Regions from separate parts of the Homo sapiens genome. Here all the other regions are linked to region 1. Evidence: promoter capture Hi-C in 16 types of primary human blood cells and fetal thymus (Javierre and others, 2016). All regions are on one chromosome and are shown on one strand. The core of a region is centred on a gene start or on the middle of the fragment in contact, and the rest is flanking DNA. Distances in the headings are between cores, read along the strand shown.

The links. The method cuts DNA at HindIII sites, captures the fragments that hold promoters and counts their contacts. A CHiCAGO score of 5 or more calls a contact.
Region 2: a fragment that was not itself captured here is called in contact with the fragment with the promoter of LINC01181 in region 1 in 1 of 17 cell types (neutrophils); the score reaches 5.4 in neutrophils.
Region 3: a fragment that was not itself captured here is called in contact with the fragment with the promoter of LINC01181 in region 1 in 7 of 17 cell types (total CD8 T cells, total CD4 T cells, activated CD4 T cells and 4 more); the score reaches 8.3 in total CD8 T cells.
Region 4: a contact is called between a fragment that was not itself captured here and the fragment with the promoter of LINC01181 in region 1, in 13 of 17 cell types (megakaryocytes, naive CD4 T cells, endothelial precursors and 10 more). The highest score is 18.3, in megakaryocytes.
Region 5: the fragment with the promoter of RIMS2 here is called in contact with the fragment with the promoter of LINC01181 in region 1 in 17 of 17 cell types (total CD4 T cells, activated CD4 T cells, erythroblasts and 14 more); the score reaches 29.8 in total CD4 T cells.
Region 6: a fragment that was not itself captured here is called in contact with the fragment with the promoter of LINC01181 in region 1 in 1 of 17 cell types (endothelial precursors); the score reaches 6.0 in endothelial precursors.
Region 7: a fragment that was not itself captured here is called in contact with the fragment with the promoter of LINC01181 in region 1 in 3 of 17 cell types (endothelial precursors, megakaryocytes and M2 macrophages); the score reaches 6.8 in endothelial precursors.

The regions. Positions count from the first base shown.
Region 1 is chr8:103,119,639-103,122,496 of GRCh38, forward strand. It overlaps LINC01181 (long intergenic non-protein coding RNA 1181), which reads left to right and starts at 1,394. Exons shown (of 6, transcript NR_145429.1): 1 at 1,394-1,575. RefSeq lists an enhancer at 2,431-2,858. The HindIII fragment of the contact is 1,509 bases long and covers 45-1,553 here.
Region 2 is chr8:102,640,393-102,643,250 of GRCh38, forward strand. No RefSeq gene overlaps it. Among named protein-coding and RNA genes, the nearest start is that of KLF10, 14 kb to the right of the region's middle. The HindIII fragment of the contact is 1,153 bases long and covers 826-1,978 here.
Region 3 is chr8:103,532,903-103,535,760 of GRCh38, forward strand. The region is part of intron 1 of RIMS2 (regulating synaptic membrane exocytosis 2); the gene reads left to right. Among named protein-coding and RNA genes, the nearest start is that of RIMS2, 34 kb to the left of the region's middle. The HindIII fragment of the contact is 1,142 bases long and covers 856-1,997 here.
Region 4 is chr8:103,515,476-103,518,333 of GRCh38, forward strand. All of the region lies in intron 1 of RIMS2 (regulating synaptic membrane exocytosis 2), which reads left to right. Among named protein-coding and RNA genes, the nearest start is that of RIMS2, 16 kb to the left of the region's middle. The HindIII fragment of the contact is 2,914 bases long and covers 10-2,858 here.
Region 5 is chr8:103,499,228-103,502,085 of GRCh38, forward strand. RIMS2 (regulating synaptic membrane exocytosis 2) reads left to right here and starts at 1,383. Exons shown (of 30, transcript NM_001348484.3): 1 at 1,383-1,835. The coding sequence starts at 1,660. It overlaps LOC105375690 (a long non-coding RNA gene), which reads right to left and starts at 2,683. Exons shown (of 5, transcript NR_145698.1): 1 at 2,569-2,683. RefSeq lists a silencer at 2,494-2,788. The HindIII fragment of the contact is 4,153 bases long and covers 1-2,858 here.
Region 6 is chr8:103,473,315-103,476,172 of GRCh38, forward strand. No RefSeq gene overlaps it. Among named protein-coding and RNA genes, the nearest start is that of RIMS2, 26 kb to the right of the region's middle. The HindIII fragment of the contact is 1,782 bases long and covers 497-2,278 here.
Region 7 is chr8:103,453,252-103,456,109 of GRCh38, forward strand. No RefSeq gene overlaps it. Among named protein-coding and RNA genes, the nearest start is that of DCAF13, 39 kb to the left of the region's middle. The HindIII fragment of the contact is 3,690 bases long and covers 1-2,858 here.

The sequences.
Region 1 (2,858 bases), core at 144-2,643:
AAAAATAAGGCTGCTATTATTTGAATCATTTAGTGAAAAAGAAAAGCTTTCTAGAACCAACAGAACATGGTAATGAACACTCTGCCCCCATACTTATCAGTCTGTATTGGCATTTTCTGTGTAACATACCTTTCTTTCCTACTAGAAACAGTTTCTCTAGTTCAGGATCTATGTCTTATTTATCAACTCCCAAAACTGTCCCTTCTTTGAATTCCTTTGATACTTAATACCCAAGTCACTCATTTGGCATTTATGTTACCTTGTATGGTCTATTGTATTTCTATTCTGTTTATACATAGTGACTCTTGAACTAGACTATAAACTCCTTCGAGGTAGAAGTCTTGCTTTGAACATTTTGTGTCCCCATTTGTTATTTGTTGAAAACAAGGCATGCCAAGGAAGGTGCTAAGGGCTGGATATGGGATAAGAGACCCTGGTCTACCTTTGGGGATTCACAATCTGGGGAATTTCCTCAGGCAGGGCACAAAACCTATGAGACAATCCTGCTTTCCTGCTGAACTTGGACCTGGGACAGGGTGGGGATGGGTGAGGCTGGAGCTGCTGCAGCAGCGTGCCTCCAATGCCTATAAATTTCCTGTTGGCTCTCATCCGTCTGGGCTGAATTTTCTATCAACCAATAGAAAATACAGACAGGTATTATGAAAGAGGGTGTTAGGAAATCCCATGCAATTATTATACATGTCACAAATGTGTGGGTGCATATGCACCTGTGAGTGTGTGACAGACAGAGAGGGAGGAAGAGCACTAGGAGGAAATGCCATCTGAACTGAATCTTGAAAGACAAACGGGAGTTAACGAAAGATGTTCCTGAGAGAGTGGCAGGTCTGTGCTTGCATCCTGATGTCAGAGTCAGATAAACTCCAGAAGCCTCAGGGCCTCTGCACTCTATCCCAGTGCTTCCCCAAACTCCTGTTGAGGGCAGACTCTTTTAGAATATGTTAACGAATGGATGTGCAGAAGAAAACTATCTTCTGAGAACAAAATTGCTCTAGTTTCTGCATTGCTGGTTTTCTCTGAACCTTTAATATGCTGATAGGCACTCAACAACAGAATCCTTTGTTGGCAGAGCACAAATTACCCTCTGTCTGTTGAACAGTTTCAGAAAGTTTATGAAGCACTTTTCAATGAGGTGTGGAGTAATAAATGATTCAGCAACACTTAAGTCCTGCCACCCTAGGCCTAACTGGTTACACTGTCATGAAAATTTACAAATTACATGGTACCAAAGACAATATAAACACAATCTATTGGGTAAACAATTGCATGATGGATTACTGTAGACTTATCAATAGTTATGGCATAATTCAGTCTTTATTTTTGCATATGAAAGGCTCTCACGCAAGCATTTTTCTGTAGCTCATTGGAATACAGTACAGATGGCCTGGATCAGTGCAATGTGCAACAAGAGGACTATATCGTCTCAGTAAAAACCTTGAAGAGATGAACCCATTTCAGAGACCCAGCAAGGGATCACCTGCATATACAGGCATCAGCAGAAACAGGAATTTGGGATTTATCCTGGAGGTAGTGGAAGCTTTTGGAGGTCTTAACCAGGTGAATGCAATGATTGGGTATATTTTAGAAAGCTCATTCACAGGGAGAGAGGACTTGAAGCGGGGTTGTTACTAGAGACAAAGAAACTAGTTAGGAAGTTATTTCAGGTAATGAGGGAGACATAATTTAGGGGCTAAACCAAGGAAGTGACAATAGGAATGGAGAGAAGGCACAGCTTGCGAAGCATTTAGGTGGTAGAACTGATTGACTCAGCTCTGAGGCAGCTGTGGGGGTGAGAAGCTGGGGTGGGTGAGGGTGGGAAGAGGGTGGGGAGGGTTGGAGGAGTCAAGAATGAACCATGACTTCTGGTTCGTGCAACAGAGTGAAGAGCTGAGGCCCCATGGTTTCCAGGCAGCCTGTGCCAGTGAGAGAAATGCAGAATAGAGTTTGATTTGAACTCTGGCTCTGTCAACGACTTGGTACTATGGCCTTGTGCAAGCAAGTTAACGTCTCCAAGCCTTACTTTTATCTTTTGTAAAATGGGACGATGATACCCCGCTCTTGCATGTGTGAAATAACTAACACATAGTCTGTGCTTCAGAAGTGAAGTCACTGCTACTCAGAGAACACAGAAGGAGAAGCAGTTTACAGAGAAAGATGAGTTTCATTTCAGAAACACTGCACTTGAGGTGGCTTGGACAGCCATGTGGAGGTGTCCAGTAAGGCATTAGATATATAGGTATGGAACTCAGGAGAAAGATCTGGGCTGGAGAGAGTTCTAGGGGCCACTGACTTTTTGATATTAGGCCAAGGCAAGGAGGTAAATGAGAACAACCAGAGAGAGTGTGGAGAGGGAGAGAAATGCAGGCCCTAACGGACGGCCTTGGGAGCATCACCATTCAACAGCTGAGGAAAGGAAGCAGAGCCGGCAAGGGAGATGTTCTGGAGCCTGCAGGGCTGTGCAGTCAGAAGGAGGCGCAAACCAGAATCTGAAGACGCAGGTTTGAGTCTCAGCTCCCTTGCTGACTAGCTGTGTGATCCTCGCAATTCAGGTAACCTCTGTAAGCTTGTCTTCTCATTCGTCAAATGGGAATGCTGCTGATAATGTCTACTTCCTGGAGACTTTGGTGAGCTAAGGTGTATAATTTTTTTTTTTAAGCTAGAGAGCCTTATAAGTGGTTCCATGTGGTCATTTTTTCCCCCTAGACTGAATCGGCTTACATCTAAAAGCAAGGTCACTTTAAGAGGGTCTCTGTGACTCTGGCCTTGCTTGCTCAGCAGGAATTCCAGCCTGCTCAAATTCCTCTAGGCAGCTCTGGGATCCCTGGGCAGGAGGTACAGTA
Region 2 (2,858 bases), core at 152-2,651, 480 kb before region 1:
GAAAGAGGGAAGGGAGGAAGGAGGGAAGGAGGGAGGAAGGAATGAAGGAAGGAAGGAGGGAGGGACCGAATGAAGGGAGGAAGGAAGGAATGAAGGAAGGAAGGAAGGAGAAGGAAGCAAGGAGGGAAAGGGGGAGGGAAGGAAAGAAGGGAGGGAGGAAGGAAGGGAGGGAGGGAGAGAAGGAAAGAGGAAGGAGAGAAGGGAGGGAGGGAGGAAAGAGGGAAGGGAGGAAGGGAGGGAGGGAGGAAAGAGGGAAGGGAGGAAGGGAGGAAGGGAGGGAGGGAGGAAAGAGGGAAGGGAGGAAGGGAGGAAGGGAAGGAGGGAGGGAGGAAGGAAGGAAGGAAAGGAAGGAAAAAAATACTGCTATTGGTGTATTATGATGGAATAATATAGACTGACATGTTGACCAATGCTATGATCCTTCCCAAAATTCATATGTTAAAGTCCTAACCCCAGTACCTCAGAATGCGACTGTATTTAGAAATAGGATTCAAAAGAGTTAACTAAGGGTAAATGAGTTCACTGGAACAGGCTCTAATTCAATATGACTGGTATTGTTAAAAGAAGAGATCAGGGCACAGACACAGGAGGAAAATCATGTGAAGACACAGGGAGAAGATGGCCACCCACAAGGCAAGGAGAGAGGCCTCAGGAGAAACCAATCCTGCTGACATCTTGATCTCGGCCTTCTAGCCTCTGGAAGTGTGAGGAAATAAATTTCTGTTGTTTAACCTACCCAGTCAGCGGTTCTTTGTTATGGCAGCCCTAGCAAACTAATACAACCAGTATACCAGACACTCTTCTATTTTAAAAAAAGGTAATCAAAGCTTAGAAGTTTCAATACTATTGTCCCAATTCGTAGAAATCTCTGGAATCTATATGTTCATTGTTCCTCTGTCTTGCCACTTCCCAAAATATATTGTCCAATTAAAGAGCTAAAGTCAGCATGGAAACTGGACTAAACTGAACATTGTCTTTATTTCAGGGCTTTGGGGTCTTACTGCCTACTCTGTAGAAATACTTCACTGCTTTTAATATCCATTGCTAAGTCTGTGTTAGCAAATTATCCCAAAATGTAGTGGCTTAAGATAATTATATACATTTGTTATCTATCACAGTTTCTGTAGGTCAAGAATCGGGGATGGCTTAGCTACATTGTTCTGGCTCAGGGTTGTCAGAGGTTACAGTCAAGATATCAGCTAGGGTTGCCGTCATCTGAAGGCTTGATTGAGGCTGGAAGATCTACTTCCAAGTAGCTCTCTCACTTGGTTGGCATCGTGGTGCTAGCTGTTGGCAAAAGGTGTAGTTCTCAGCATGTAGACCTCCGCATAGACCTGCTTGTGCATCCTCACAACATGACAACTGGCTTCCCTCAGAGTGAGTGATCCAAGACGGATCATGCTGGAAACAATAATATCTTTTATGAGGAGTCTTGGAAATTACACACCATCGTTTCTACACCATCCTACTGGTTATATAGATCAACTCTAGTCAAAATGAGCAGACACTACATGAGGACATGAATATCCAAGAGCAAAAATTATTGGGTGCCATCTTGGAAATGAGCTGCTTCATTGCTTCATCCCAATTTTGTGAACATTTGGAATTTGACCTTCCTCCCTAACAGGGACCACAACATGACAATTTCTATACTGATGTCGGATGCTGCCCCACCTATAGGGGCCTTTTCTGTCTTAATAATTGATCTGAGTTGTGACAGTGCAATACCCACCATTGATATTTGGGCAGCCCTCTTAATGTTTGAACCCCCTCCCTCCACTGCCAACACCCCCCCGACACACACACACACAGAGTTTTCAAGCCTAATTCTATCTTGAGAAACAGGTTAGATGAGCGTTATAACCTCATTGTATAGATACTGAAACAAAGCTGTGAAATAGTGAAATTGCTTACTTAGCTTACATTTGTAGCCAGCATAGAAGTGACACCAGCATGATGGCCCCATGACCCCAGGAGAAGCTTCCTTTCACAAGGCCACACTGTTTTACTTTGTCTAGTGGTAATAAACACTCAGTGCTTGTATTTATCTTTTCAATGAGATTGTGCAAACTAAAAGGGTGCCTTTTTGAAACTGATATTCAAGCTTCACACAGCTTAATCAGAGAAATAGGAAACTGCTTCTACCACAGCCTGGGTCATCCTTTCTTCACTTCACGTTATTTCTTAACTTTTCTTCTCAGAATTTTATATAGATTTTTCTAAACCCAGGCTGTGCCTCCAATTTAGAATTAAAATTTAGAATTAAAAATTAAATTCTTCCAAGAAAATGAAAGAAAGATAAGGTGTCATCTTTTTATATTTTGGGGCATTTTCTCCCTTTCAGCATCTTGCTGCCAAGCTGGTCAATCAAGGTCATGCAGGGATTGTTGGCATCCATGGTAGAGAGCCATGAATTTCTAATCTCTGTCAAGATCAGGATGCCAACTGGCAGGGGAAGCTTAAAACAACAGACGGCTCCATTTAGTTTTATCCCTTCCGTTAGAATAAGCCAAAGATGAGAGAGTTATGCTTCCTTGGAATTCTGTGTCTGTCAATTTGAGGCCGCATTATGTGGGCAGACCTGGCACAGGTGTGGCCTGATGATTTCCTTGGGGCAGAGATGTTTTTGTCACTCATGCTGATCTTCATTCCCTTGGGATTTTGAATTCCTAGAGCTCTGGGCATAACTTTATATCATTTTTAGCCCATGCTTGATGGGGCATCTGAGATTGGGCACTTTATCATGAATGAATGAACTAAATTCAGACTTGGAGAATTCCCTCAAGCTGGGATCATTATAAAGAGAACAAAGGGATTTCAGTAAATTGACGAACTCAGTTCATACATTGGAGGCTTCT
Region 3 (2,858 bases), core at 177-2,676, 410 kb after region 1:
ACTTTAAAGTACAGTAGAGTATGAGTTGCTAAGTTAGATGACAAAGCACTGGGTTTATTATGTATTAGTGCTGTAGTTATACTAAAGGAATATAATATATGTTGACATTACCAGACTAAGCATTGATCACAATATTCTCAAGTAGGGAAAATTAGAATATTAAAGTGGAATATAAGCTGATTTTCTTTACGAAAGTAATAAATGAAAATAAGGCTGTGACCAAAAAGTAAGTTTCTAAGTGGTTCTCTTGTTAGCCAAGCAAATAAATCCATTTAAGATATGGTTAGTTAATTAAATCATATTTGATTGCAGGAACTGAAAAAATGTATCTAGAGAAAATAAACATTAAGCCTTTTGGTGGGAACAGTTTCTCAAAGAGTTGAGGGTATTGGGAGCAGCATTTCTAGTCAGTTACAAAACACAACAAGTGATTTTTGAGTGGTTTTCCTTGACTCTTGGTGAATTGACAAATGTTATCAATACTTTTCTGTTGTTTTTTATTTTAGGAGTTAGTATTGAGTTTTAATAAGCCTCTGAATAGTCAGTGTGGAACAATTAGTGGCAAGAACATTTTCAAATAATTTGAGAAAACATTAATTTAGTACAACCTGAAGTGGAATCTGCTAAGATGTGTTAAAAACTGATAAAACATGGGAGGCTGAGGCAGGAGAATTGCTTGAACCTAGGAGGCAGAGGTTGCAGTGAGCTGAGATCATGCCACTGCACTCCAGCCTGGGGGACAAAGCGAGACCCTGTCTCAAAAAAAAAAAAAAAAAAAAAGAAAAAGAAAAAAACCTGATAAAAGATAAAAATAATGTATGGAGTAGAAAAAGTCTTAGTTGGACAACTTTTCAAAGCTTGTAAAAATTAAGGTGTTTAGAGCTTATGGTTATTCATTGTGTTATTTATGAGTAGATATTCTGCAGAAAATATTTGAATCATCATGTGTTACTGAGTCACTAGTGTCAACAGTGAACTTCGTTCCTTCTTGTAGATGTAACCATCATGACTTCTGTGCATTTTTGTCAGAAATTGAATATTATGACTCATTCTATCAAATAGAAGTGTGATGGTCTAGCAGTCATAAAATTTTATTTCAATTTTTTGAGCTCAAGGCTGACGTTGAACTGTTTCTGAAAAATACACTAAGCCCTGTTATTGAACACTGGATGGCTTTGGAAATTTGCTTTTGCTGCAAAATTGATAAATTTCTGTGTTCAACTTAGAAGCTCCACATATAAGGTAAAACTGTGCTTACATATGGAATTTATAAGTTCTACCATGGAACTTAAAGTCATTTCAATGACAATGTTTATCACAAATAATTTCAAGCTACTTTATATGCTTCCTATGCTGTCAATAGTTAAGTAGTGAGCTCCTCATTCCCACACAGATTTTCAGTTGATATATTTTCCAAGCTCAGACTATAGTATCAACCTAATTTTTCAGACTTTGAAGCAAGTACAAAAGACATATACATATTTCAAAATTTATTTAACTGTGTAATTGAAGAGTTAATATCCAACTTTCATCTGCAATGTATGATGTATAACATGCTAAAAGGCAAATGTCTAGAGAAGTCTCAAACTCAATTCTATAAGTATCCTCTAAGTGATGAATATCATCAATTAAAAACATTCTCATTGTTTGATATCAGTACGTATTTGTATTTCCTATCTGTGCAAAAATATATTACTAAAATGAAATACATAAAATCATATTACAGATCAGCATTAACAACAGGACATTTGCAATTGATTTGGATCATTTGGAATACTAACTTTGAATCCCAATTGAGTGAAATATTTTCCCCCCAAAGAGAATTCCATTATTCTCATCAGTAGACCTGTATTATTACATTCAATTATTTGAATTTTATCAATAAGGGTTTTGTAGAAATTTGTTTTTTATTGTTCTGTTAGCACTACACATTATCCTTAATTTTGCCTTTTGACTTACAAAGCCTTATTTACTGTCTGGCACTTTACAGGAAAAAAAGCTTGCCAACCCTTGATTTAGGCCAGTAAAAAATACCAGTTGAGACTTATTTGAAATCTTTACATTGTATTGATTTTCTTCTTTGAATGAACAAGAGAAATTTATTTCTCTTTAGCTTGAAAATATCCAGTTTACTGTTGCCTCTTTCTGGCTAAAAGAATGTTTTTTTGCCTTTGAATATAAATTGTTATTTACGACTTTAGAATGTACTTATATATGGTTAATTTCAACAACTACCTTTATCATCAGCTCTGAATGTCAGAACTTTCTCTTTGTGAAATTTTATCCTAGTCATGTAAGCATTAGCTGTAGCAGAGGTTATGCTAGCAGAAGTAGAGTAAGTTTGGAGGAGGAGTATAAATGCTTCCTCTTCTCTTGCTATGCAGCCTATCGATTGCCCTTAATTATTTCTACATAGTTTGGCAATGAGCTATACTGCTAGAAAAGCCTTCTCTCTACCTAGACTTTTGACTCTGATATTAGAAACTACCAGGAACCTTGCTCAGAAATGTGATTATTCATTCCATAGGTGGCAGATCAGGCTCAAGTATATCTACAGGATTTTAATACTGTAATGTGTAGCCCCATTATTGAGTCGATTACAGCTAGAAGAACTGATTTGAATGCCCGCAGAGCTTTGCCAGAATTCAACGTTAGCTTTTGGCTAGACTCCAGGAGCCAGTGGTGTACTTTGGCCATCTGTTCTGCTTCCTCACCTTCAGTTCTTCCCAAACTGTGGGGCAACAATTTGGTGCATTTTGATTAATGATAGGTTTAGCAATGGGTGATGGCTTAGTCTTTCAGGTAGCTAAATGTGACAAGATAAGTAGAGCTCAACTTTAATAAGCTTCTGAATACTC
Region 4 (2,858 bases), core at 217-2,716, 400 kb after region 1:
CAGAATACAAGCTTTTCCTTTCATAGACAACAAACTTAGGTATGGAACAACAGAGAACAATATTCTGATCTCGTTTCTTTGTGTAAAGCCAACAGTAATTGGGATTGAAGCAGCTTGGAATTGATTAGATTTTTCATTTTGATAACATTTAATGTGGAATTCATATCTAAAGGCAAAATTTATATTCAAGAGCTCTGGAAATAAAATATTACTTGAATTTCAGATTTTTCAGAATGAACTCTGATTATAGAACTTTTCTACTTGTCATCGCAAATTTATACAATATTTCTATAATATTTTATAAATATTAGTGTTTCAAAATCTTAATTTACCAATTTGAATATATTTTGTTTTTGGTACATCTTTGCAGGACAAATATCTTTTTAGTTTTTCCTCTTTAGTGGCTATAGTGTCAGTTATTAACTTAATACTGTTTGCTGACTATAGATTCATTAATCTGCAGTGAAAACTTTAGTTAGTAATTTTGATTAGTGTTGTCTCTATATCCTCTCATGTGCCATCTATACACTTACTAATATCATTGAAAGTGACACATGTTCTTTGTCTTTTTTTCTTTTTGGTTCATCGATTTCAAATATAGTGTTGGCAGTTGGCAGTTTCTATGTAGACTTCTAAATGAGAGGTTCTGTATTATGCTTTGTTATTTTAAACTTGCAGACATTTTAAAAAGTTAAAATCTTGCTTTGTGGCAAGGTGCAGGCATTGTTTATTGGCCCCATAGCTTTATGTGCTAACTTCTTTATACAAATAGGACATTTAGTTTGAGAAAGAGAAGAATTATAGGAGTACAGGAACCAAAATTTGAGAAATGTATTATATTGCTGAAATAATTATTTACTTCAATAACTAAAATTTCAAAAATTTCATACTTGTACTCATACTTATATTTTCAAAAAAGTCTGCAGTCCCTTTACTGAACTTATTTAATTAAATTATGTTACATTATTTTTTATTTCTAAAATTAAAACAATCCACTATGAAATTCTGTCACGAATGACTCTCTTGGTAATTGTTAACATTAAAAGCCAATAAGAAAGAAATAAAGAGGGCCAGAATGAAAGATGGAAGAAAAGAAGGAAATACAAACAATAAAAAGATTGACAAAATAATTTATATCCTATGTGGGACATCTAATACTAGATGTTGCTATTGTTGCAATGTAGTATTCCTACATACTTTATGTGCTGGAAAAATGTAGAAACAAGGGAAAATTAAAAATAAATGTTTTACATGTGTATATTAGACAAAGAACTTCAGTAATAATAACCCAATTGGGACAAAAGTAATAATTGGACTACCTGAGATGATCCAATGGGAAGGTCGGGGAGAGGTACTACATGGCGCTGCTTCTACAAAGCCATATACACTCTACTCTCTAAAAGAATTTAAAAAATGGATATCCCCTTATACATGTTTAAGTCTGCATCTAAAAATTTCCAGCAATACAGTATAGGGAATCAAAGATAATGATTGTTTTTGATTTAAGTATTTATTTGTTCTTCCTTTAAACAAATGCATTTTGAGCATCTGTTCTATACCAGCCACTGTACTAATTTAGGAAACAGAGAGGAATAGGACACAGTCTCTGCCCTTGAGGTGCTTATAATTTAGTGGTAAAGAGTCATGTAAATAAATAATCCAAATGCATGATAAGTGCCTTAAAGTAGTTATATACCAAGTGTTGAACAGAGGAAGGGGCTAGTATACGAACATGGAGGATTTAAGGAAGTCTTTATAACCAAAGATCACATTCAAACTGGCCTTGCAGGAAAAAGTATGTGGAGAAGAAGGGCATTTTAGACATATGCTGTGAAAAGCATTTAGACACGGACTGTGAAAAGCATAGTGCATGGTGTCTTTGGGGAATAGCCAGTATTCCTATATTGCTAGGTGCATGGAAGATGGAAAGAAGGGATGGAGTGGTGGAAGGTGAAGCTAGTTGGTGAGAGTCAGTTACAAAGGGCATCATATGCAGGACTGATATTCAATTGACCTGCACCAGTACAGAGACACTAATTTTTAAAAACTGAATCACTTTGATGCATACTACTAAATATTATTGAGAGAATAAATTATCTAATGATGTTGTCTAGTGCAGTCTTATAGAATTATGAAACCTAGTAACCTTGCTGGTATGTATTAACATGGTCCTTGGAAGGCATGTACTGCCTGTAGTGTCAGTGCCTACCTGATACCCCTGTGCCCTGTTGTTGGTGGAGGCAATGGAAGGCTGCAGTGCAAGTGGTTTTCGTGGTAACTGCATTTTGCAGGGAGTGTCCTGAGGCACAGTGCTTTCAGTCTCTGTGGAAAACACTAACAGCTAGATCTGGGGTATCCAATCTTTTGGCTTCCCTAGGCCACACTGGAAGAAGAAGAATTGTCTTGGGCCACACATAAAATGCACGAATATGATAGCTGATGAGCTAAAAAAAAAAAATTGCAAAAAAATCTCATCATATTTTAAGGTTTACAAATTTATGTTGGGCCACATTCAAAGCTGCCCTTGGCCCGCGGGTTGGACAGGCTCAATCTAGATGTTTATGTGACTATGACATGCAGGCAGCCTGCCCAGTTTGTTTTAAAGTTGTAGCAAAATGGTGGGTATCAGGGACCTAATGACTCTCATTTTAATTATGAATGTGTCAGGAGAAGTCTAATATTGTTCTAAATATCCAACCATGGCTCTGTTAAGAGATTGACACTTTATAAAATTCAAAAAATGATTTGTAAGTTATTAGAATGACTGTATAAATAATTTATGCTATAACTCCCATGTGTCCAATCTTTTGGCTTCCCTGGGCCACAATGGAAGAAGAGGAATTGTCTTGGGCCACACA
Region 5 (2,858 bases), core at 133-2,632, 380 kb after region 1:
CAACTTCCTCACGCCCCGCTCCCCTCGCCCTGTCCCCGCCCTCGACACCACCTGCGTTCCCCACTCGCTCCAACCTCCCTCCCCCGCTATCCCCACTTGTGGGCCTCCAGCTCTCTGCCCCTTTCCTGGCCCCCATCCCTGACACCCCAGGGACCCTTCCTCCCTCCTCACGTTCTCCCTCCTTCCAGGATCCCGCCCCGACACTTCGGGGCCCTCCCGCTACGCGCACTCTTTCTCCTCAGGTCCTGACACCTGGGCGCCCCCTCCCTGTCACCCACCTTCAGCTCCAGCCCTGACTCTCGGGCGCCTTGCCACCCTTACGCTCCCCGCCCCGCCCCGGTCCCTCGGGCGCCCCCACTCGCCGCCTCTACCTCCCTACCTGCTACACCTGGCACCCCTGCCCCCACCCCTGCTCATACTCTTCCCCCGCCCCCGACACCTCGGGCGCCCCCTCACACGCTCCTATTCTCCACACTTCCGTCCCCGAAAACTCGGGCGCCCTCTCCCTTCACGCTCAGTCTCTCCTCCCTCCCCGCCCGGCCCCGGACCCAGCCTGGAGATCGCGCTCGGGAGGGGCGGCTGCCGCCCGCGGGGCGCCCGCGGTGCCCGGGCCTGGGCAGCGAGGAGGTGACGCCGCCCCCGCGGGATGAGCCCGGGAGGCGGAGGGGCGGAGGAGGTGCTGGCGGCGGCACTGAGCGGCGGCGGCGCAGGGCGCGCGGGCCTTCCGCGCCGACTCCATCGACCCAAGGGGCGGCGGCGGTGGCGGCGGCTGAGCGACCCTGGGCCGGGCGCGTGATGAGGAGGGGCCGGCGCCAGACCCCGCTGCACGTCGGAGCTCGCCTGGATCCGGGCGTTGGCAGCCGAAGGGCCCTGGCCCCGGGACTCTCCGCCGCTAGCCCCCGTCATATCTTCTCCGCTTTCGCTTCTCCACTCTAGCCGGGGGTGGGGTGGGTGGGGTTGGGGTCTCCGCGGGGGTTTCCGGCCCCGCGGCCCGCTCCCGGGTGTGCCTGGAGGAGTTCTCCCTCTGTGGCGCGCGGGAGCCCTGTGATGCGTCAGCCGGCGGGACGGATGAGTTGCTTCTCCGGGAAACCGTCCTCGCTTCCTCACGACCCTCTCGGCTCCCGCCTGGGTGCCCCTCGGGCCGGCAGTACTCCGCCTCCGGGCGCTCGAAGCGAGTTCCCCGGGGGCTTGTTCGCAGGCACCCCTTCCCCTCCGAGGCGGCGCGCGCGCTCCCGGCCCTGACCGCGGCCGGACACACTCGCGCCCCGGTCCGCCTGTCGCCCTCCCGCCTGCTCCCTCCAGTCACCCCACCCTTAGCTGTCCCCGCCACCTTACTCCACCACCCTCCCCCGCCTCTCCGCGCACTCCGCGTCCCGGCCTCCAGTTCCCCTTTCCCTTGAACCGCTCACTTCACAGCCCTTCGCCCCCGGGAAGAAGAAACATTTCCCGAAGCGCACTCCTCAGCCCTCCTTCCCCACGCGCTCGCCCTCCCCTCCCCCTGCTTTTCTTGGGGGAGGGGGGCTGTCGCCTTGGATTGAAGGCCATTGATTTGTATGTATTTGTCCCAGCGCTGGAGGCTGCCCCAGCCGCCGCGCCGGTGCCGCCGCTGCCAGTGGAGTTGCCTCCCCGCTTCCCTAGGGTGGTTCGGCTCCACCAAACATGTCGGCTCCTGTCGGGCCCCGGGGCCGCCTGGCTCCCATCCCGGCGGCCTCTCAGCCGCCTCTGCAGCCCGAGATGCCTGACCTCAGCCACCTCACGGAGGAGGAGAGGAAAATCATCCTGGCCGTCATGGATAGGCAGAAGAAAGAAGAGGAGAAGGAGCAGTCCGTGCTCAAGTAAGGACCTGGCTCCATATTCCCGCCTCTCTCCCTGCCCTCCGCCCCCTCGCCCACTGCCCTGCGGCCGCCTGCGCGCCCCAGTTCGCCGCCCTCCCTCCCGCTGGCGGCGCCCAGGCCACGAGGGCTGCGGCCAGCGCCGGCCGCCCGGGCTGTTTTAGGGGTGTCTGAGAGCAGGGGTGTGTGTCGGGGAGGGAGGGCGCCAAGGCCGGCTGAGGTGAGGGTGGCGAGCCTTAGGCGGTGTGATTTTCCTTGGCGCCTTTCCGGATTTCCTCGCTGGTCATCTTGGCTCCGGGGCCCCAGCGGGACTGGGGCTGAACCCAGGCTCTGTGCGTACCCTCTCCTTTCCCGCCGCGCTGAGGCAGTGACTGGGGCACAGAATCCAATATGGCCGTGCACAGGTGCTCCCTGGACGGACCCGGGCGAAGGCGCGCTGGCAGGGGATGCGGACGCCACCCTGGTCCCACGCCTCCGCGGGGCGGCTCTACCAGCAACGCGGGACAGAGCAGGGCTGCCCACAGTGGCTGCGAGCAGCGGGCGGCGGCGCGGGCTAGGGGCCTAAGCTCTGTCGCGGTCGGGTGGGTGTGCGTCCGCCGCCATCTTCCAGCCCCTCCCCCTCGGCGAGTGCTAACACCCTGCACTCTGCTGCTCTTCCTGTTTGCAACTAGTAAATCTGTTTAATCCTGAAGAGACTCCAGTTCCTACCATCACTGCAGTTTGGGATGCTCCCTACCTTGTGAAGTTCTACTATTCTTGCTCACGGTCTTGGCAGGCCGGGTTTTTCTGAGGGTGGTAGGAGTGAAAGCAGCACCCAGGCATGCGTTTACCGGCTCTGGAACTTCAGCACCAGGGAACTGTCCAGACAGGGTTATCTTTAGCTCTGAGACTACTTTTCTGGTTAGCGTAGCAAAGAGATTTGTTTCTACAAGGTTTGCTTTTGAATGTTTTATGGTTATTTGATTTCTCAGTTACTTTGTGAAAGAGGTTATTCAGAAGATGTGTAACCTTTTTATGTTTTTCCAG
Region 6 (2,858 bases), core at 138-2,637, 350 kb after region 1:
GAATGTAACTCTCACATACACACAAAATGGTGTGAGTCCTTTGGAAATCAATTTGGGCTTTTCTTAAAAGTTAAATATCCACTTACTATATGATCCAGACATTCTACTCTAAGATACAAAGATCTGTAAACCAATGTCCACAGCAGCTTTATTCTAATAGAAAAAAAAATCAACTCCAATGTCCCTCAACAAGTAAATACATACACATATTTTGATATGTTCATACCATGAAATACTATTCAAAAACTAAAAGGAACAAGTTATCAATTAACACAACATCATGGATGGATCTTAAAATAATTATTGTCAGTTATAGAAGACATATCCTCCCTCCCCACCAAAAAAAAAGGGAAAGAGTGTGGACTATATGATTCTGCTTATATAAAAGTCTAGGAAATGCAAACCAGTGTATAGTGATAGAAGGAAGACCGTGGTTACCTGTTGCTTATGGTCGCTTGGGTTTATGAGAGGGAGAAATAACAAAGGGGCATGAGGAAGCTTTGCAGTGTGATATATGTGTTTATTATTTTGATTTGGTAACGGTTTCATGCATATATATATATAATTCAAAATTAACCAAATTTTATACTTTAAAAATGAAGGCTTTATTCTGTGTCAGTTATACCTCAATAAAACTGTTAATAATAAAAGTAAAAACAAAACAAAACAAAACGGTATTTTTTAAGCAAAGTATGCAAAGTTTATGAATATGTTAATTAGCTTAATGATAGTTAAGCAAAGTGATGAATATGTCAATTAGATTAATCTAATGAGCTTTAGCTACAATAAAATCTACTTTGTCTGCATATATCAAAACACTGGGCCAGGTGCAGTGGCTCAAGCCTGTAATCCCAGCACTTTGGAAGGCCAAGACACATGGATCACCTGAGGTCAGGATTTTGAGACCAGCCTGGCCAACATGGTGAAACCTCATCTCTACTAAAAATACAAAAATAAGATGGGCATGATGGCAGGCTCTGTAATCCCAGCTACTCAGGAGGCTGAGGCAGGAGAATCGCTGGAACCTGGGAGGCAGAGGTTGCAGTGAGCTGAGATTGTGCCACTGCACTCCAGCCTGGACAACAGAGCAAGACTCCATCTCAAAAAACAAAACAAAACAAAACATTGCATTGTATCCCATAAATGTATACAATTATAATTTGCCAATTAAAAATAATATTAATAAAAAAGAACACAGGAAATTACCACAACACACAATATTCAACGTTTTGTGAGAAACCAAGATAGAAAACTAACCATAATAACACAGAGCAAGTGTGCAAGTGATGTTCCATGGATGTGAAATCTAACCCCAGTGATTCTGCAAGTCAATAGGACCTACGTCTGGGTTACTTGGCAGAAATGATGATCACAAGTGAACAAACAAATCAGGTAATTGATCAACTGGTGATGATCTAATTCAATTATCTTCTAATATTACCTAGACTTCTTTAGGTAGGTTGTCCAGGAGACAGTATTTGCTGATAATTGTGCCTCCAAGAATGTACATATGTTTCTATGATAATAATGCATAATTTGCAATATTATGGAATGATATAAACCTAGGGAGCCAAAGTCCTGTATTAGTCAACACTGCATCATTTTTCAAGTGAAACAATATTTATTGAGCACATACTATATACCTGACCAATTTGGATGCTGGGAATACATCAGTGCACAAGACAAAACTCTTTCTGTCATGAAGATTACATTCTGGTAGGTGAGAGAGATTAAAAAAACTATAAACAGAAATATATGTACAGGTTGAGCATCCTTAATCCAAAAATCCAAAATCCAAAATGCTCCAAAATCTTAAACGTTTTGAGTGCCAACATGGTACCACAAGTAGAAAATTTGATGCCTGACCTCATGTGACAGGTTTCATTAAAAACTTTGTTTCATTTACAAAATTATTTAAAATAGTACAAAAAATTACCTTTAGGGTATGTGTATAAGGTATATATGAAACATAAACAAATTTTGTGTTTACAGTGATTTCACCCCCAGGATATTTCATCATGTATATACAAATATTCCAAAATCCACAAAAAATGTGAAATCCAAAACATTTCTGGTCCCAAGCATTTCAGATAAGGGATACTCAACCTGTAATATAAATTCAGGTAGTGAGAAGTTACATGAAGAAAAATAAAGCGAATCAAAGATATTGAGAATGACAAAAGGCAGGTGATCTAATTAGAAAACACGGTAAGGGACAGTTTCTCTGAGGAGGTAGCATTGAACAGAGACCTGAGACATATGACTCTACAAGGCAAGAAGCTTCCAGGCGTGGATGAATGTTCCTGAGACACAAGTTAGCTTCATACAGTATATATGAGGAAGAGTGAGAAAAGGCCAGTGTTCCTGAAGTGGGGAAAGAGACCAAGAGAGTGGTAGTCAGGACCCAAATCACATAGGGTTTTGTAGTTCAGATTGTATTATGCATATTTTGGAAAGCTTTAGAGGCTTTGGAGCAGAAAAGCAACATGATTCAGGCTACATTTTGAAAATATCACCATGGGGAAGAGATCCCATGGGAGACAAGACTGAAAGGAGGTAGACTAGTCAGGAGACTACTGCTATGGTCCAGGTAAGTGCTGACAACAGCCTGGGCCTATTGTGCAAGTTGTAGTAATGGTGAAAAGTGATCAGATTCTATATATATATAGAGAGAAACCATATATATATGTAATGTATATATACACATATATATAATTTATATATGTAATGTATATATACACATATATATAATTTACATATATGTTGTTTTTTGTTTGTTTATTGTTGTTGTTGTTTTTGAGGTGGAGTCTCACTCTGTCACCAGGCTGGAGTGCAGTGGCGTGATCTCGGCTCATTGC
Region 7 (2,858 bases), core at 252-2,751, 330 kb after region 1:
AGAGAAAGAGTGTCTTACCAAATATCCTGGATTCCAAATCATGACCCCTTAAAGTTCTAAATTTAGGTGAGTAAATGGTCATGTAGCTTGTTTCTCATCTCCCCCATCCCCAACCTGCAGTGTCTTTCTCTTAAATGTAGTAAAACCAAATAGATCAATATACATCAAGATCTTTTAGGACCTGAAAAGTAAGGCCACAAATCATTAAGGGTAGAATGTCAGTTTTCTTTTTTCCTGTGATGTAGTGAAACTTAAGCCACTACATACTTCCTAGGTTGACAGCTGAAATAAAAATCACAACATTGTTCATGTTCTTGTTCATTAGGCCTAAAATCAGTTATTTTATTTCTTCGTCTAAGAATCTCTTTTACATTTGTACAAGGAAGAGTGTGGGAAATAGTGAAAGCTGGCTAGCCTAAACCCCATTCCCAGCCCTCTTCTCTGTCTGCAGTCCTCCACTAGAGAGGCTGAAAATGCTGAGTATTTTTTTTCTACCTCCCTTGCACCTAGGGGTGGCCATGTGAACCTGTTCTGGCCAATGTGGCATAAGCAGAAGTCTACTGTGAGGTTTCTTTTTCTAGGAAAGCATTTCTTTCTTAATAAAGGAACAGATGTTGTTGGTGCTACCTCTTCCCCCTCCACTTCTTTATGCTTTAAATGTGAACCTGATACCTGTTACTGTGGTGACCATATTGTGACCATGAGTCCAAAAGAATAAGGTGAAGGATGGTGGAATGAAAAAATAGAAAAGGCCAGGGTCTTTTAGGACATCATTCACCAGGAGATCCAACCTGCTGTCTCCTGTCTTCTAATTATAAGAGACAAATAAATTACTTTCAGCTTAAGCCAGTGTTAGTTTGATTTTCTGAATACTTAACAACCAAGAAAACATCCTAATGACAAGACTTGTTTTTAAGTTTCAGTCTAAAAGCCACCCCCCACTCCAAAGGGTAAGTGAATACTTTCCATTTCATTTCTTATCTATTTTAGGTGAGACTGTTCTATCTGTAATAATCATTATAACTTTTCTTTGATTCAGTAAGTAAGCTGGACCTTTCGAAAGAATGAAAAAGAAGTGATAGTTTGGTATTATGCAAACAGTAGTTCATCATCAAGATGTGCAAGTAACACAATTCAGTAATCATCCTCTGGGTGATAATAACTTTTAACCAGTTTGGAAATGAGGCCGTTTACAGACCATGAAGGGGCAGGGTTCAGGTGGCTTATCATATCAAGGCATTTTCTTTGGAAGGTAATGAAACTGACTTCTATAAAGCGGAAAGTACATCCTCTCTGTAAGGATTCTTAATTCTTCTACCTCGATTTTGTATTGAATAGATACAAAATAGAACTCGCTCTCTTGACAGGCTCCTCTGTTTTTAGTAGAATGAGGTACAACTCTTCCAAAGCACCTTTTTTGTGGACTTTGTCTGGTCCTAATAAGTACTCCACAGAATAGTAGATGTACTTCTATAGTTTCTAAGCTATCAGCTGCAATGCCATGTATCTATCAGCTTTGTCATCTGACACTATCAAGTTCCCCATGATCTCACAGTCACTTCAGATAGCCAGTCTAGTTCGTTAATGCCACCTGTTCTGAACCAATTCTCCATCAATTGTTCGCTGATTCTGGCTTCAAATTTCCACATCAGATCATTCAATAACAACCGCCAACTGCTTTTTGTTTTAAATTGAGGTTAAATTCACGTAACATAAAATTGTCCAGTTTAAAGTATACAATTCAGTGACATTTCATATATTCACAATGTTCTACAACCACTAACTTATCAAGTTCCAAAACATTTTCATCACCCAAAAAGAAAACCCTGTACATATTGGCCAAGTGTGGTGGCTCACGCCTGTAACCCTAGCACTTTGGGAGGCCAAGGCGTGTGGATTGCCTGAGCTTGGGAGTTCAAGACCAGCCTGGGCAACATGGTGAAACCCCGTCTCTACTAAAATACAAAAGAAATTAGCCGGGCATAGTGGCGTGCGCCTGTAGTCCCAGCTGCTCGGGTGGCTGAGGTAGGAGAATTGCTTGAACTCGGGAGGCGGAGGTTGCAGTGAGCCGAGATCGCACCACTGCACTCCAGCACTCCAGCACTCCAGCACTCCAGCACTCCAGCCTGGGCGACAGAGTGAGACTCCATCTCTACAAAAAAAAAAAAAAAAGAAAAGAAAAAAAAAACCCAGTCACTCAAAATTATTCTCTCCTTCCAGCCTGACGCAATCACTAATCTGCTTTCTGTCTCTATGGATTTACATATTGTGGATATCTCAACAAAATGGAATCATATATGTGAACTTTTGTGTTTGGCTTCTACTTAGCATACTGTTTTCGAGGTTCATCCATGTCATAGCATATATCAGTACTTCGTTTCTTTTTATGGCTGAATAATATTCCATTGTGTTCATATACCACATTTTGTTTATCCATTCTTTCATTCACGGACATCTATGTGGTTTTCACCTTTGAGCCATTGTGACTAAGTGCTGCTGTAGACATTCGTGTACAAGAATTTGAGTACTTATTTTAAATTTTTTTGTCTATATACCCAGGAATAGAATTGCTGGGTCATAGGGCGATTTTATGTTTAGCCTTTTGAGGAACAACCATACTGTTTGTTGTATGTAAATGCTGTAGCAGCTGCACCATTTTACATACCCCTAGCAACGTACAAGTGTTCCAATTTGTTCACATCCTTACCAATGCTTATTTTGCTTTTTAAAGAAAATGATAGCCATCCAAGTAAATATAAAGTTGCATCTCATTGTTGTTTTGACTTGCATTTCCTTAATGAGTAACACTGTCGAGCATCTTTTCATGTGCTTGTTGGCCATTTGCATATCTTCTTTAG